Linked DNA regions of Homo sapiens: region 1 is linked to region 2. The links are contacts of gene promoters, found by promoter capture Hi-C in blood cells and fetal thymus (Javierre and others, 2016). All regions are on one chromosome and are shown on one strand. The core of a region is centred on a gene start or on the middle of the fragment in contact, and the rest is flanking DNA. Distances in the headings are between cores, read along the strand shown. Region 1 overlaps CALCOCO2 (calcium binding and coiled-coil domain 2). Region 2 holds the start of PRAC1 (PRAC1 small nuclear protein).

What was found. The method cuts DNA at HindIII sites, captures the fragments that hold promoters and counts their contacts. A CHiCAGO score of 5 or more calls a contact.
Region 1: a contact is called between a fragment that was not itself captured here and the fragment with the promoter of PRAC1 in region 2, in 2 of 17 cell types (megakaryocytes and M2 macrophages). The highest score is 7.0, in megakaryocytes.

Annotation. Positions count from the first base shown.
Region 1 is chr17:48,864,898-48,869,149 of GRCh38, reverse strand. CALCOCO2 (calcium binding and coiled-coil domain 2) reads right to left here. Exons shown (of 13, transcript NM_005831.5): 13 at 3,905-4,252. Among named protein-coding and RNA genes, the nearest start is that of ATP5MC1, 26 kb to the left of the region's middle. The HindIII fragment of the contact is 6,231 bases long and covers 1-4,252 here.
Region 2 is chr17:48,719,099-48,723,775 of GRCh38, reverse strand. It overlaps PRAC1 (PRAC1 small nuclear protein), which reads left to right and starts at 1,258. Exons shown (of 2, transcript NM_032391.3): 1 at 1,258-1,458; 2 at 1,877-2,057. The coding sequence starts at 1,384. The coding sequence ends at 1,975. PRAC2 (PRAC2 small nuclear protein) reads right to left here and starts at 591. Exons shown (of 2, transcript NM_001282275.2): 1 at 463-591. RefSeq lists enhancers at 282-797, 798-1,312. The HindIII fragment of the contact is 8,116 bases long and covers 1-4,677 here.

The sequences.
Region 1 (4,252 bases), core at 1,168-3,667, 140 kb before region 2:
GTCCCCCAACTTTATTGGGTACATCCATCTCCACAGAATAGATATTACCAGAGACCACTAATGCTGTTGGCCAAATGGTGGGCTATCACTAATTCCCTTGACCCTATTAATCTTGATTCTATCGCACTGAAGCTGCTGCCTCCAGTCCAAGATAGGGGGAGAACACAGCACAGTTGTGGCAGTGATTGTACTGACATCACCGTAATCTATCCAAGTTCAACAGTGTTTAACTTGCTCTGTGTTTGTATTTGAGACATCCTTCATGTCCCAAATGATAATTTGAGATCGAATTCACAATGCATAAGATGCATCCATTTAAAGTATGTAACTCGGCCGGGTGCGGTGGCTCAGGACTGTAATCCCAGCACTTTGGGAGGCTGAGGCAGGGGGGATCACTTGAGGTCAGGAGTTCAAGACCAGCCTGGCCAACATGGTGAAACCCGTCTCTACTATAATACAAAAACTAGCTGGTTGTGGTGGCACACGCCTATAATCCCAGCTACTCGGGAGGCTGAGGCAGAAGAATCACTTGAACCCGGGAGGTGGAGGTTGCAGTGAGCCCAGATCGCACCACACTCTAGTCTGGGTAACAGAGTGAGACTTTGTTTCAAAAAAAACAGTATGTAACTTGATGGTTTTTAGTATATTTGGTCGTGTAACCATCTCCACAATGAAGTTTAGAACATTTTCTTTATCCTCCCAAAAGAAACTCCATACCTATTGGCAGTCACTCTCCATTTCCCCCCAACCCCTAGCCCTAGGAAACCAATCTATTTTGTTACTACAAATTTGCCTATTCTGGACATTTCAAATAAATGGAATCATACAATAATGTGGTCTTTTTGACTGGCTTTTTTCACCTGGCATAATTTCAAGGCTCATCCATATTGCAACATATATGACTACTTCCTGTTTATTGACAAATAATATCCCATTGTATGGATACACCATATTTTATTTATCCATTCATCAGCTGATAGACATTTGGATTGTTTCCACCTTTAGCAAGTTATTTCTGCATGTTTCAGCTTATTCATCCATAAAAATGAGTTAATAGCTGCCTTGTCTTGGAGGATTATGAGAGGCACACAGGGAATATGTGAAATACATTCTAAACTATAAAGCGGTACAAGAATGTAATGATATTTTATTACTTTAATTTTTTTTAGAGATAGGGTCTCAACTCTCTGGCCCAAGCTGGAGTGCAATGGTGCAATCATGGCTCACTGCAGCCTCAACCTCCTGGGCTCAAGGGATCCTCTTGCCTCAGCCTCCCCTGTAGCTGAGGCTACAGGTGCATGCCACCATACCTAGCTTATTTATTTATTATTTATTTATTTTGGAGAGACGAGGTCTTGCTATGTTGACCAGGCTGGTCTCCAACTCCTGGCCTCAAACAATACCAGCACGGGGTATTATAGGTGTGAGCCATCACACTGGCCTAAAGACTTTTTTTTTGAGATGGAGTCTCACTTTATCATCCAGGCTGGAGTACTGTGGCACGATCTCAGCTCACTGCACCCTCAACCTCAGCCTCCCAAGTACCTGGGATTACAAGCATGCCCCACTACACCCAGCTATTTTTTTTTTTTGAGACAGTCTCGCTCTGTCGCCCAGGCTGGATTGCAGTGGCACGATCTCGGCTCACTGCAACCTCTGCCTCCTGGGTTCAAGTGATTCTCCTGCCTCAGCCTCCTGAGTAGCCCAGACTACAGGCACCCACCACCACGCCTGGCTAATTTTTGTATTTTTTTTTTTTTAGTAGAGACGGGGTTTCACCATATTGGCCAGGCTGGACCGAAACTCCTGACCTTATGATCCACCCGCCTCGGCCTCCCGAAGAGTTGGGATTACAGGCGTGAGCCAGCACTCCTGGCTAATTTTTCATATTTTTAGTAGAGATGGGGTTTCAACATGTTGGCCAGGCTGGTCTTGAACTCCTGACCTCAGGTGATCTGCCCACCTCGGCCTCCTAAAGTGATGGGATTACAGATGTGAGCCACCATGACTGGCCCTAAAAACTTTTTTTTTTTTTTTTTTTGAGATGGAGTCTTGCTCTTTCACCCAGGCTGGAGTGCAGTGGTGCGATCTCGGCTCACTGTAACCTCCACTTCCTGGGTTCAAGCGATTCTCCTGCCTCAGCCTCCCGAGTAGCTGGGATTACAGGAGCCCGCCACCATGCCTGGCTAGTTTTTGAATTTTTAGTAGAGATGGGGTTTCACCACGTTGGCCAGGCTGGTCTCGAACTCCTGATCTCGTGATACACCTGCCTCAGCCTCCCAAAGTGCTGGGATTATGGGCATGAGCCACTGCACTCGGCCAAGACTTTTTTTTTTTTTTTTTTTTTTTTTGAGACAGAGTCTCACCTTGTCTCCCAGGCTGGAGTGCAGTGGTGCGATCTTGGCTCACTGCAAGCTCCACCTCCCGGGTTCACGCCATTCTCCTGCCTCAGCCTCCCGAGTAGCTGGGACTACAGGTGCCTGCCACCAAGCCCCGCTAATTTTTTGCATTTTTAGTAGAGATGGGGTTTCACCATGTTAGCCAGGATGGTCTCGATCTCCTGACCTCGTGATCTGCCCACCTTGGCCTCCCAAAGTGCTGGGATTACAGGCGTGAGCACCGACTAAGACTTTTGAATATTTATATGAGAGCAGCTAAGGAAAGCACTGGGGCCAGTGTAACTTCACTGAGCTTATGGCCTATTGTTGGTTAACTCAGGGCAATCAGATGAATATCTCTTTGGATCTTGTCTCTATGTAGAGTCCATTTTGCTTTTTTCCCAGGTAATGGACTGCATCCACATTTCATCCACATTTGTTCCTAGGAGACCAGGTTAGAGTATGCTTACCTCAGTGTAAGCCACTGCCACCGTAGAAAATCAAATCACAGGAGAATGATATTTGAACATCAAGGCAGTCACATTTCATCCCAATTTTTAGCAAGACCAGGGAAAAGAGCTGAAGCTATAGGTGTTAAGGCCTAGGTTTACCAAATATCTTGCCAACTCTCTCTCTCTTTTTTTTTTTTTTTGAGACAGAGTCTTGCTCTGTCGCTCAGGCTGGAGTAAAGTGGTGCGATCTTAGCTCACTGCAACCTCCGCCTCCCGGGTTCAAGCAATTCTCTGCCTCAGCCTCCCGAGTAGCTGGGATTACAGGTGCCTGCTGCCACACCTGGCTAATTTTTTGTAGTTTTAGTAGAGATGGGGTTTCACCATGTTGGCCAGGCTGGTCTTGAACTCCTGACCTCGTGATCCACCCGCCTCGGCCTCACAAAGTGCTGGGATTACAGGCATGAGCCACCGTGCCCGGCCTCCTTTTTTTAAGTTAGCTTTCTTTCACACTCACATGTGCCAGGGTGACTTTATTCTCCCTTCACTGCCCATCCAGTAAGCATGCTAAGGTAATGCAAAAACATTTTAATATTAGACCAAGAGAAAAGAAATTAGGAAGGAAAACCTGTTGCCATAACAAGTACAAAGATTCAAAAATTCAACTCAGATAACTATTTGCTCTCATAACTTCCTATTTTTTGCAGGTATTTTACAGCTATATAATGTGTGGGTGCGAGGGGGATGGAGGAAGGCCAGGGTGGGCAGTGGGTTATATAAGAACTATTGTTGGCTGGGCGCAGTGGCTCATGCCTGTAATCCCAGCACTTTGGGAGGCCGAGGCCGGTGGATCATGAGGTCAGGAGATCGAGACCATCCTGGCTAACGCGGTGAAACCCCGTCTCTACTAAAAGTACAAAAAATTAGCCGGGAGCGGTGGCGGGCGCCTGTAGTCCCAGCTACTCGGGAGGCTGAGGCAGGACAATGGTGTGAACTCGGGAGGCGGAGCTTGCAGTGAGCGCCTACTGCACTCTAGCCTGGGTGACAGAGTGAAACTCTGTCTCAAAAAAAAGAACTATTGTTTACTACTAGTGGCTGCCTAGAGCATAATTTCCCCCTTCAAAGCCTTGGTAAGAGCAGCTGGGGATAATGAACAGTGGTTAAAGATGCTTTGTTTTACACCCAGCAAAAAGGGTCATTAACACCTCAACTGGTTTTTTTACCAAGCCCTGTGGAAGGGCTCCTGCTGCTGTTGACAATCATGGTAACCCTCGGGGTAGCAGGGGCAAAGGGGTGGGTAATTCACCAGAAAATGGTATTCACTGATTTGGATTATGTGCACCACTGTTCCTCTCCATTCATGTACTTAATTAAGAGCTGACTGGTACAAAATAAATGAAACTGCAATTCTTCACTGGATCTGGG
Region 2 (4,677 bases), core at 9-2,508:
CTACCTCCGGAAGCTCTTTTTGAATCTCGGTTCCAGCACCCGCAACGCAGAGCGCGAACCTGAGGCTCCATCTTTCGGGTTTTACTCCGGCTGGCTAGCGCTTCCGGGAACCCTGCGAGGCCGCCGCCAGCCGAGAATCCGCCCCGCCTTCCCTGCAGGCGATCCCTACTCCAAATAGTAGTTCCCGGGCCGGAAGCTGGAAAGCCCTCGAAGCAGGAAAAAGCCTCATCCAGGCCCCCCAGTTCTCGGGAGCAGCTCCAGCTTTCCTTCCCCAACCTAGAGCAAACTTCTCTTCCCTGCAGCTCCCCTCCCCCCCTTCATTAAAGTTATATTGAAGGTGCTAAGTGCTGCACTCTAATTGGGTTTCCTTCAGGGGAGACCCTGTGCCCCCCGGCCCCAACCCGTCCTGTCTAATAGAAATCCCCGAGCTGCAACCGCGAATTAAATAGATGAACTCGTTACCGTAAACTTGCAATAAAGCCCGGAGGCGACTGCTGCGGAGGGGGCAAAAGAAGGTTTCGTTGTTTTTGAAATTTATACCATTCTCACCCTCCCGAACAGTCGCTCTCCAGGGAAGAGGGGAGAAAGCTCGGGAGCGGCCCCGGGCCTCTAGCCCAAAAGCAGGACACCCCGCCCCTCCCCCCAGGCACTGGCCTGGGCCTGAGACAGATTTAAAACATCCAATGAGGAACCGATGCCAGCCTTTCTTCCTCTCTCCCTACCAGTTAGTTCTGTGTAGAGGGGATGAGGGGGAGGGGACGAAGTGGTCGGGGGAGAGTGAGGGAAAGAATTCCACCATTACCTTCTCTCCTCCCCTAAACTGCCCCCGAACTGGGAGGTGCACAGGGGGCAGCAAAAGAGTTTAATCGCCCCTAGAATAATGCTGGCGCCCAGCCTGGGGGGAGGGTCAGGGACTTTGCCATTGAACTTGAAGTTCCAGGCTGGTGGTCTCCACCGCCCCCGCCCCCATTTTCCTAAAAGTTTTATGGGAAGAGGGAGGAAGGTGAGGGGAAGAGAGGACTTCTCTGGCCTTGGGAAAGAGGGAGGAAGCCAATCAGGGGAGGAAGGGCCACAGCAACCAGGAGGTCCAGGGAGATTCGGAGGTTTGCGGGGAGGCGAGGAGGCTGCTGGGAGGAGACACTCCAGCTTTCGCCCCTACTTGCAGCTATGAGGTGGGGAGCCACCAACCGCAGGCCTTCTTACTGAGCCCCGCCCCAGACTCTACAGGGAGAGGGGCACCCAGTGCTGTGCTCCCGTCCTTCCTCTCCTAGCCTAAGGCGTGCAAACAGAGCGCCACTGGGAGGCTGAAACCTTTAGGCCGATGCTTGCTTGCAAGGTCAGGCAAGCTGGATTCTGGTCCCCACCTTTGCAGAGAGAACAGCGATGTTGTGCGCCCATTTCTCAGATCAAGGACCGGCCCATCTTACTACCTCCAAGAGTGCTTTTCTCTCTAATAAGGTAAACTGATCGGTGGGCCAAGGGCGTTATCGACGGATCGCTCAGTATGGTAGCTGCATCAGGAGGCCCTGGGAGAGGGTCTCCCAGGAATTTGGGAGCCTTCAGAAGTTTTGGGAAACAAGGGAAGGGTGAGCAGCAGGCTTTCACCGATACCACCTGGCGGGAGCACCTACTCGCGGTTCCTGGAGAGACCGGCAGCCGCCCTGGGCAGAAAGGGACAAAGAAAATGTTTCGCAGCACGCGGGACCTGCAGGACCTAGGCGGGGGAGAGGCTTGGGAGTGGGAACTAGCACCCGCTGTAAGGTCTGCCATAAGACTTAATGTTTGTCTCCAATGGGATGGAGTCCTGGCATAAGCAAAATTAATATTGATAACGTTATTATTATTTAAAATTTGTAAATATTGTAAAATATTTTAGAAAACATCTACTTTGAAACATCTACTGGGCGAGACCAGGAGTGATGGCTCAGCCTGTAATTCTGGAATTTCGGGAGGCCGAGGCAGGAAGATTCCTTGAGCACAGGAGTTCCAGACCAGCCTGGGCAATGTAGCAAGACGCTGTCTCTATTTATACAATAAAATTTTTTTAAAAAAGGAAACTGGGTGAAAGTTAACTGTGATTATAACAATTTTTCTTTTTTAAACTAACTCATCCTTAAGGCAAAAGCTCTGGGCCTTAAAAAAATAAAAACGGGCCAGGCATAGTGGCTCATGGCTGTAATCCCAGCACTTTGGGAGGCTGAAGTGGGCAGATAACTTGAGGCCAAGAGTTTGAGATCAGCCTGGCCAACATAGTGAAAACTGTCTCTACTAAAAATACAACAATTAGCTGGGCATGGTGGCTCACACCTGTAATTCCAGCTACTCAAGAGGCTGAAGCACAAGAATTGCTCGAACCTGGGAGGTGGAGGTTGCAGTGAGCTGAGATTATGCCATTGCACTCCAGCCTATGTGACAGAGTGAGACTCTGTGACAAATAATAATAATAATAATAATTGCACCTTTTTCTCTGGGCCCCTGGCTTCCTTATTCCCTTTCCTGCACCCTCTCAGAAGCTCTGCCTTGCCAAGTGTGGGATCAATGCCACAGCAGGCATGTGTGCGCACAGGGGCTCTGGGTCCAGTACAGAAGCAGGCTGGGGACCACATGCTCACATCTTCAGCCAACCACTGATATTGCCAAGTCATTGGTCTTGGGGTGGGCACAGTAATCCACAAAAACACTCAGGACTCACCTAACTCTCTTCTCCCCACAGCTGGCTCCTTCCCTGCCAGTTCCCCCTCCCATAATGACAAAACCCACAATTGAGTGAGCACTTTATAACCTAAAGAAATTGAAACTAAGAGGGTAAGTTACTTGATCTGGGTCCCAAAACAGGAGCGCTTAACCTCTACCACCAACTGAAAAAATAGAAAGCCCAGGGACTCCTCTATTGTCAACATACCTCTCCCTGCAAGGCCCTTCAGACACTAACAAGCACCTGCTTCCATCCGGAGTCACCCAGCTGAGATCACACAGGTGCACCCAAACACCCTAGACCCAGCCCCTCCTCAGGCACTGGACAGATCTGCATATATGCAAACAGGGGATTAAACACGTGTGGACATTTTTGTCAACCAACTACTCATTAATTGAGTATGCAAAATCTTCCACTAGGGGTGGAAGACAGGAGGAAAGAGTTGGAAATATGCTCTCCCTTCCCACCAGGCCTGACTCCTATGCTGGTAAATCTTGGGTCTGCAGCTTCCCCATATGTGACCTGAGGCCAGAGGATTTTATTCCATGACCAAATGACTACAATCAGAACAAATGGGGAACAGGACGGGGAACAGGGAAAGAGAAAGATACACACACACACAGACAAGCAAGGCTTCTGGGAGTCTTCCCTGGAGAAGATGCTTGGAATATCAAATCCGGGAGGGAAGATGTGAACAAAACTCGGAGGAGGCCAGAAAATGCAGGTCGCGGTGGATAGAAGGACGGTGCGGATCCTTACTCCGGGTGAGCTAGAGCTGGCCAGGCAGAGAGCAGGGGCATCTCACAGGGTCCTGGACCCCCAGGCGAAGCCTGGGCAGTAATCAGACGTCCCCTTGCCCACTCAGAGGCTGATCGCCTTACCCTCATCCAGGCGGGCACACACCCGCACTACTCGCCAAACTCCGCAGACCCCAGGCTGAGGGCAGAGAGGCAGCTCTTGGTCTGCGGGGTCCGTACCCATCCTGTGGGCCCTCAGCTCCCCATCTCTAGGTGGGCCCAGCCCGTCGCCCCCGCCCGAGACCTGCGTCCAGCCTTTGTCATGTTGATGGCTGAAGCTCGCCGCACCTCCCATTCCAGGCAGGTTTTTGTCATTGAACTTGAGTCAGGCTATAAACATTCCTTCACCCCTCCGGAGCCAGGCCGAGACGCGGAGGGGTGGAGGGGAAGGGCGGAGGGGGCTGTGGAGCGACCCGAAACGCGAGAAACCGGGCCTCGCGCGGCTTTATCAAAGAGCTTCCAATCCTTGCCTTCCGGGGAACACCCGCCGGGCCTGCAGCTAAAAGCCGGATTCTTGAGGCCATCCGGCAAGTCAGGCCAATGTTTTGGTCGGGATCGACATGGTGTAACTTTTTCTGTTTTCCTCCTTGGCATTTCATGTTCGTTTACCTTATTCTAGGCAGTCTAATCCTTAATTTATTTTAATAATCAGGATAAACAGATGCGTACACAAACGAATACTAGCTAAGGCCGATGATTTATTAGAGAATGTTCGAGTCGGTCGTAACGAGGCCGTCGCCGCTCGGTTTTACAAGCGCCCCTCCCTCGGCGGGGTTATCCGGGGGGCTGTCGCCCGCCGCGCTATCCGATCCCTGGCTGCTACCAGGGCGGCTGCCGAGCCCCGCGGGTTTCCCAGCTGCCTTCCCAGGACCTGGAAACTTAAACTTCGCAAATGGGGCGTCTCCCTACTCGGTGGCGGAGGAAATAGCGGCCTGGAGAGCCATCCGACCCGGGAAACCGGCGCGTCTTTCCAGGCGACCCGCCGACTGCGGAGGCTGCGAGGAGCGGCCTGCTCAGACGGTAGTAGTGCTGCGTGTGCGTGTGTGTGTGTGTGTGTGTGTGTGTGTGTGTTTGTGTGCGAGCGCGTGCGAGTGTGTTTAAAGAATTCAGGATCCTGGAGCAAGGGAAGATCAAACACTCGATCTCCGGGTCTCTCCCTGGCTCGGTAACATCCAGTCGAAGGTG